Regions from separate parts of the Homo sapiens genome. Here region 2 is linked to region 1. Evidence: promoter capture Hi-C in human tissues and cell types (Jung and others, 2019). All regions are on one chromosome and are shown on one strand. Each heading gives the region's core, a stretch centred on a gene start or on the middle of the fragment in contact. The rest is flanking DNA. Distances are from core to core; before and after follow the strand shown. Region 1 holds the start of GRXCR2 (glutaredoxin and cysteine rich domain containing 2). Region 2 has its middle 19 kb from the start of SH3RF2.

What was found. Contacts are between HindIII fragments. The study calls those that stand out against the background at their distance.
Region 2: a fragment that was not itself captured here is called in contact with the fragment with the promoter of GRXCR2 in region 1 in 5 of the 25 tissues and cell types used here (adrenal gland, mesenchymal stem cells, psoas muscle and 2 more).

Annotation. Positions count from the first base shown.
Region 1 is chr5:145,870,834-145,874,678 of GRCh38, forward strand. GRXCR2 (glutaredoxin and cysteine rich domain containing 2) reads right to left here and starts at 2,181. Exons shown (of 3, transcript NM_001080516.2): 1 at 1,800-2,181. The coding sequence starts at 2,135. The HindIII fragment of the contact is 8,071 bases long and covers 1-3,845 here.
Region 2 is chr5:145,916,011-145,919,855 of GRCh38, forward strand. It overlaps a transcript of GRXCR2 not described here. Among named protein-coding and RNA genes, the nearest start is that of SH3RF2, 19 kb to the right of the region's middle. The HindIII fragment of the contact is 6,073 bases long and covers 1-3,845 here.

The sequences.
Region 1 (3,845 bases), core at 931-3,430:
AGGCCAAGCAGGAATCAGACCTTCAACATGGCCTCTAAAACACATAGAGTACTGTGTTTTAACCAACTGAGCCATGCTGCCATGAAGACTCATTTACCTAGATTTATAAATTCTATAGTCCTAGCTACCAGAGAGGCTGAGGCAGGAGGATCCCTTGAGCCCAGGAGTTTGAGATTGCTGTGAGTTATGATCATACCACTGCACTCCAGCCTGGTTGACAGATGAGACCCTGTCTCTAAAAAAGAAAAAAAAAATTATACATTTTCATAAATGCTAAATTTAGCACATGACTTATGAAGATCAAGCAACCCAAAATTTATCTACTGTGGCCTTGCATAAGGTTTGCATGAACTGTGACTTTGTAAATTCTAAATCTACAAATAAGACATAGTTAAAAAGAAATAGTATAAGTACAAGACTAGCCAAGTGCCTAGGACCTAATAAGCACTCAACAAATGGTAGCTATTATTATTATGTAATAATATGGTTCTCTAAAAAAAGGAACATGCCCTAAAGCAAAACATTTGTAGCATCAGAAGATCTGGATTCTTATTCTGACTCTGTACCCAATGACCCTGTAGTATCAGATGGATCCCTTAACAACTTGGCACTCAATTTTTCTCTTCTGCAAAATGGGAATGACCATACTTTGGCCTTTCTCCCCAAGGTTATAGTAAAGACCCAATGCCATAGATATAGACAGAGATAGTACATGATGACACTTTGTACTGCATACGTCACCCCATTAAGATAAGAGGTCATTCATTTCAGCCCCTTTTAATATCAAAAACAAGCCTAGTGTTATCTTCGGTAATTGTGAACATGCCCATAATTATACTTTTACCAATGCCAGTAAAGCCAGTAATACATTTGTCTGCAATAGATGTGTTATCTATTCCCTTAGGAAACTAACAATAAAAATAATTCAAGAGTAATTATCTGGCTTTCACACTTTAAAGATGAGAACACATCCTGGTGTGCTATTCATTAATAACGTGGATACATTATATAATTGTATTTTATCTTTTTTAAGAAGTCATTCATGGTCCCACTGACAGCATATATACATCTCCTATGAATTTTTGGATACCAGTGTATGTTTTCCAGGTTCTACCTTAAAAGAAAATCATGTATGGACTTTTGATTATCCATGGTACTGGGAAGTAATTGAAATTCATAGATTAAACACATTCTTCAATCGAACCATTAGCTCAAACTTCTTCCTCACATAACATATCCTCTGGCTGATTTGCGTTTCACCATCCCTTCCCAGGACTCCAACTACCCAGAGCTTATGCTAAGGAGCAATGGAAAGGAAAAATAAATAGACAAAGCAGGCAGTATGAGGAAGGCAATAGGGGTAAAAAACAAGACATGGATAAACTGCAAGCTGAGTAATTGGCTGGAGTAAAATGAGCACTTTCAAATACTCAGCTCTTTCAGGAAACAAAATGACTGCATAATTGTCTAAAACCGCAGTCTGACAACCTGAAAACCACTGCACCTCTATTTAATTTACATTCCAGGAAAACTCAGTCAAAGATCCAATTACAATGTATTACCTTGGATGGAATTTGAATACTATATATGCTCATTGCACTTTCCAATTAGTAGTCAACAAGCATGTTATTTTTACCCCAGAAATATTCGTCTAATAACAACTTCCCATTTGGTGCACCAACAGTTCTGGTTGGTACCGGAGGGGGAGCAAGACACAAATCTGAACCATTTAGGAGTTTCTCTAAACACGTTTTAGGAAGCCCTACCCTTAAAGCCTATATGCCATGCACAATACCAACCTTATGGTCATTCGCCTTGTAATCGTTGAACCGAGGCTGGCCGCCTGCCAAGGTGTAGGCATTACCCTCTCTAAACACACTGATCCTCTGAGCAGTCAGCTTAGGGGAGCACATCTGGGGCCTGGGGACTTCCCCAGACCCATAAACACCATCCATTGTTTCAAGAGACTCTTGCAGAAAACTGTGAGGGTATTCCTCCTTTGGTGACTCTAATTCCTGCCCATCCTCAAAGACCTGCTTCAATACTCGACCGCTGTAGGAGGAGGAGATTTTAAATCGTACTTTCCGGGGTTTGCCATCACTCTTCTGATTCAGCTTTTTCTCAGGGTCCTCCATCAGCAGAAAGTTGACCCTGTGGTCTCCAGCCTTCCGTGCAGCCGGTGAAACTTGGGCCTCTGAGAAAAAGGCATTTTATTTTCTCTCCTCCTGCATATAATTAATTCAAGTTGTTGCTGGGGTATGGTCAGTTTACAGCAACTGACACCCATACATTAAATATTGATAGACCCTCATGAAAAGGCAGGTGATTCTGGTTTGATGGAGTGGATGGAATATAAGACAAGATTGATTCTTCTCATAATCCCAAGCTCACCATGACTTCACCCCAACCCTAACCTTTCTTAACCTGAGGATGAAGAAGTTTATTTAGACTGAACATGTGCCAATTCAATAAGGATCAGACACTCAATTAGTTAACAAGTGTCTTCTTATTGTTAGCAATGACAATTAAAATCTAGTGAGCATTTCATAAGTACCAGAGATTGTTACATGCATTATTTTATTTCATCCTCACGATAACCCTACAAAGAAAATCTTACCTTTGTTTTACACAGGGGAAAGTGAGGCTTAGAGCCACTTGTCATTTATCTTCATCATTTGTCTGCTCTATTACACCTAAGTAAGTGACAGAGCAGGGATTTGAACCCAGATCTATCTGACTCCAAAACCCAAGATCAGCCCACACAACCAGAAGTTTTCCAGTTCTGGTTCTAGAAGAGGGAATGACGTCCTAGATACAGTGGAGGTTCTTGGAGGCTGCTGCTAAGAACAGGAGAAGGCCGAGGGTCCTGGATTCTGGGCCTTCTCCCCCTACGCTAACCAGAGCACCTCCACTTGGTATGTATTTTACATTTAAGATTTCATTTGCAATCACAGCACAAGTCCCCATTGCCTGTTGGACTTCGTAAATGCCTGACACTGAACTAGTGGCTGGAGTGAATAGCACAGAAGCATGTGACCTGGGCCTGAGAACAGTCCTACAATCCCATACAGACCTCACACAGGTGAAATAATAACCTCATGCTTAGAGAGCAAACTGCCCACAGCTGAATCCCAGAATAGCCACTCTGGGAAGGAAGTGGTCTCTAAGGAGACAAGGATGGAAGAAGGTTTGTAAAGAAAAGGGCCCTTGGGCTGGGTAGAAAATGGTAGGTTGGATGTGAGGAGCTGAAAGTGGAGTAAAGCCTTTCTCCCTGTCTTTGCTACCAGCATCACCATTTACTGAGTTACCCAAATTGACCCCTCCTATTCCCCTACAGCCATTCGCTTGGATTCTTTTTTTTTATTATTTTATTTTATTTTTTTTTTTTTGAGACGGAGTCTCACTCTGTTGCCAGGCTGGAGTGCAGTGGTACGATCTCGGCTCACTGCAACCTCCACCTCCTGAGTTCGAGCAATTCTCATGCCTCAGCCTCCCGAGTAGCTGGGACTACAGGCACACGCCACCATGCCCAGCTAATTTTTGTATTTTTAGTAGAGATGGAGTTTCACCATGTTGGCCAGGATGGTCTCAATCTCTTGACCTCGTGATCCGCCTGCCTTGACCTCCCAAAGTGCTGGGACTACAGGCATGAGCCACCGCACCCAGCCCATTCACATGGATTCTTTCACCACTGCCTTCTTTCATCTACCCCTATCACCCTGGCCCTAGGGCAAACCCTCATCACTTTGATTTTTAAAGTTGCAGCTGTCTCCCAAGGACTTCCCTACTCACCCCCAATTCCATTCTCCATATTGATGTGAGAGCAATAGTCCAAAACAACAAAT
Region 2 (3,845 bases), core at 618-3,117, 45 kb after region 1:
GAGGGAAGAAAAGAAAGACAAGCTTATTCATGGGGAAGCAGATGATGCTCTGCAGAGAATTCAAAGAGCTGTGCATGGTTGTGTGGGAGGCGAGGAGGTGGAGGAAGCGGGGGGCGCTGCTCAGAGCCCCTGCTTCTGCTGGGGCAGAAATCATGTGTGACGAGAAAGAAAAAGAAAAGAAGGGAAGTGACAAACTGACTGTACGTGTGTCTGTCATCGTGGATGAGCAATAAAGATGATAAGAATCCTCAAGACAAGGCTGCATCATTAGATGAGGAATAAAAAAGCTTATTATTAGGGGAAATTGATGCTCTGTGGAACCAGAGCTTTTAGAACAAAGAGCATCAAACTGACATTTTTCCAGGCTGGGGAAGTGTTATTTCATTCATGATCAGTTACAGGCATTAGGATCTGTTGCTTTCTTTTGTTTTATTGTTCTGTTGCCCCATTTTCTCCACCAGGCCCCAGGCTGAACCCTGAGGGGAGTCTATGAAAAAGCTCTTGAAGGAAGGCATTGGGAAGGGAAAGTCCTCCTTGTCACAGAGGGCAATTTGTATTTTGAAGAGTTTCATTTGAATTGCCTAGAAAATACTTCAGAGACAGATCTATATAATCTCATCATAAATTCAACCTTATACTTTTCAAAGGAGGCAAAGAAGGATATAGACATAGCTATCAGGCCTGGGTTCAAACAAGGTTCAAATTAAGGTGACTTCCTATATTAACTTGAGGAAATCACTGAACCCTCAAAACCTTAGTCTCTCAATCTGTAAAGTAAAATTGAGATTATGACCAACCTTAGAGGGTCATTGTGAGATAGGGAACAAGCATGAATGGTGGTCTAGAGCAAGCCCTTGACCACTGTCATCACCTTTTTTGTCATTGTCATTGTTGTCACACAGCTAAGAGGTTATAGGAGCAAGCGTGGAAACTAACTTAAAATCAAGAAGCTCCCTGACTTAAAATCATAGCCACATACAGAAAACATACAAATCATGCATTTCAACCCTAATAACAATGGGAGCCATTGCCAGATTTATTTCCTAAGCATCTTTTTTTTTTTTTTTGAAAAGCAGTTATTTCCAGGGTGGGAAACCTCCAGAATCCACATCTCCTTTTAAGATACAAAACAGCATTATGTCAAGATGGACACGTTCTCCACAGTATTTGCCTGTTACTCCCACTCGCCCCCCGAGATTAATTTGCAAGTCTTCTTTCTTCCCCAAAGTGGATTCCAAAGGCACACACGGCTCAGAAAGGAAAGCAATTCTTGTTCTTCTTTCTCAGGCTTTCCTGTGTTTTAGACCCAAATATATGAACTTTCATGTTCTGGTCTCCCCACAGTTGGAGATCAGTGTAAGGACATTTCAGAAATAGAAGAGGTGTGAGAATGAGAGTAAGTGTGCAGAATATAGACAAGGACCATGATCCAAAAAAAGAAAACACACCCTCCCACTCACTGAATCATTCTGTAAACACCATCAGAATGTCTGCTGAGTGCCAGGTCCTGTGCTCAGTGCTGGACAACAAGGAGAAGAGAATGCAGACCTTCATCTAGAAGTTCACAGCCTGGAAGACAGTGAGGAATGACCCCAGAGGTGTGGAGCAGGGAGCAGCACCTGTCACATCCTCAAGATTGTCCCACTGACAGCTTCTAATGAGATTATTAGGTTCAGGTGCCATGGACTAGCCTCAAGAGTAGGTGGTGAACATCCAGGAATAACCCAAATACCTCCCCACCACTCACCTGTCTCCATGGCTGAACTCTGTTTTGTTTTGTTCTGTTTTGAGATGGAGTCTCACTTTGTCACCAGGCTGGAGGGCAGTAGTGCAATCTTGGCTCACTGCAACCTCCGCCTCCTGGGTTCAAGTGATTCTCCTGCCTCAGCCTCCCAAGTAGCTGGGACTACAGGTGCCCACCACCATGCACAGCTAATTTTTGTATTTCTAGTAGAGACGGGGCTTCACCATGTTGGCCAGGATGGTCTTGATCTCCTGACCTCGTGATCTGCCCACCTCGGCCTCCCAAAGTGGTGGGATTATAGGCGTGAGCCACTGTGCTCGGCCGGCTGAACTCATTAGTCCTCATTACTTCAGAAGAAGGGAATGCCAGTTCCCGTGATTGCCACTTTTCAGTTGAATGCTGGTATTCCTAGAAGACCTCGTTATTAGCCATGACAAACTCCCTTTCCCTAACTCCTTTAACAGAACTTTACAACTTACAAAACATTTTCATGTTTATGATCTGGTAGTAGGGCAGGCAATTTCATTCCCACTTTACGGAGGAGGAAGCTAAATAATTAGCCTGTGGTCTCACAGCTCAAAGGCAAAATAGCTGGGAGGTGAACGGGGTCTGTTGACTCCAAGTCTACAGCTCAGCAAAGCCAGCCAAAGATCATTGCTATCCCCTAGTAACTTAGACGTAAGTTACTCTTTCCTCTTAAAAGTAAATATTTTGTAGTTCCACAGAAGGAAGGACTGAGAGTTCTCACAACCTTCGATACTCACAGCAGAGACTGCCCAGTCCTGTGGGCATGGGGAAAGGTCAAAGTGTCCAGGAAAAGCTGGTAATTATGACCAGTTCCTGGGTGCTTCCCATATGCCCAGCACTGTGCTGCAAGCAGGCTTCAGCTGTGTCACCTGAATGTCCCTGACTTCACCTGCTCCCACCTGTGTAACTGTAGTCCCTCCCACCCCATTACTTAGGGATTTCCCCCCATCTAGAGGAAGAAGCTCAGGAACAAGCCCCCTCATGCTCTCCATTAATATTTACTGCCCATTTACAAGTCCTTATGGGAATTACCTTGGCATCCCTGTGATACAATGGCCTCCATTAAAACACTACCTTCGTGCCTGGGACCTCACACCCTGGAAAAGCCAAACAGACTTGGTTCCCTTCTGTGCTTAGTGCATGCCTAGTGCTGTGTGTGAGCCCCTCCCCAAATGCTGCATTGTATTTTGTCCACTTGGACTCTGAGCTACTAAGTTTCCCGCATCACCTGGGGAGAACAGATCCTCCAGTTTACGGCTTCTGCTTCACAGGGACTGAGCATCTGTTCTTGCGGTCAAGTCGGGGCAGACTCCTCATTAGAGCTTGCACTGTCCCTGTCTCCTCATTTCTTCCCCCAGGTCCCACTCCAAATCCTCCTCCTTTCTCCTTCAGTCCAAAGTCACATAGACAAATCAGGGAAAGTGGAGAATCTGGACCCCCAAAACCAACCGAACATTGCTGGATAATTCTGGAAAAGTGACAGCCCTGGGAGGGCATGCAGAAGAGGATCCCAATGAGGAACTCTTAAAAATCCTCCATAGAAACCACAATTGTTATTTATGGAGACCTTGCATGCATATCTAATTAACCCTCACAAGAACGCTGTGATGCAAGTAGCCTTACTTCTTTCAATTTACATAAGAAAATGGTAGCCTCATTCTCCAAGCTAACAAGTGAGGAGATGACCCCAGCCCCTCCATTCTTAACCCCAGTGCAATGCTGAGTCCCACTCCCTGAGTTGCAAGGGTTTGCAGATCCAGGTGGTATTTCTCGCGAATCAATTGCTCGGAGAAACAATGACAAAGAAGGGTTTAAGTATTGGGTAGGCGGGTGGGTAGGAGGGAGGAGGAGAAGCTGTTAATTTTAGATGTGTAATTCAGACTGATCATTAGGTGACAGAGGTGTCACCGTGCCCCTTATCTTTGTCATCCGCCTTCTAAAATAAGGGTCAGGGCCTGTGATTTCCTCAGGGGGAAGATCCATCCTTTGCATGCTTAAAACCCCTGGGGAGGGCAGGACCAAAGAAGACAACAGAGAAGAAGACTCTGGGCTGTGGAAGTCACTTGTTTTCTGC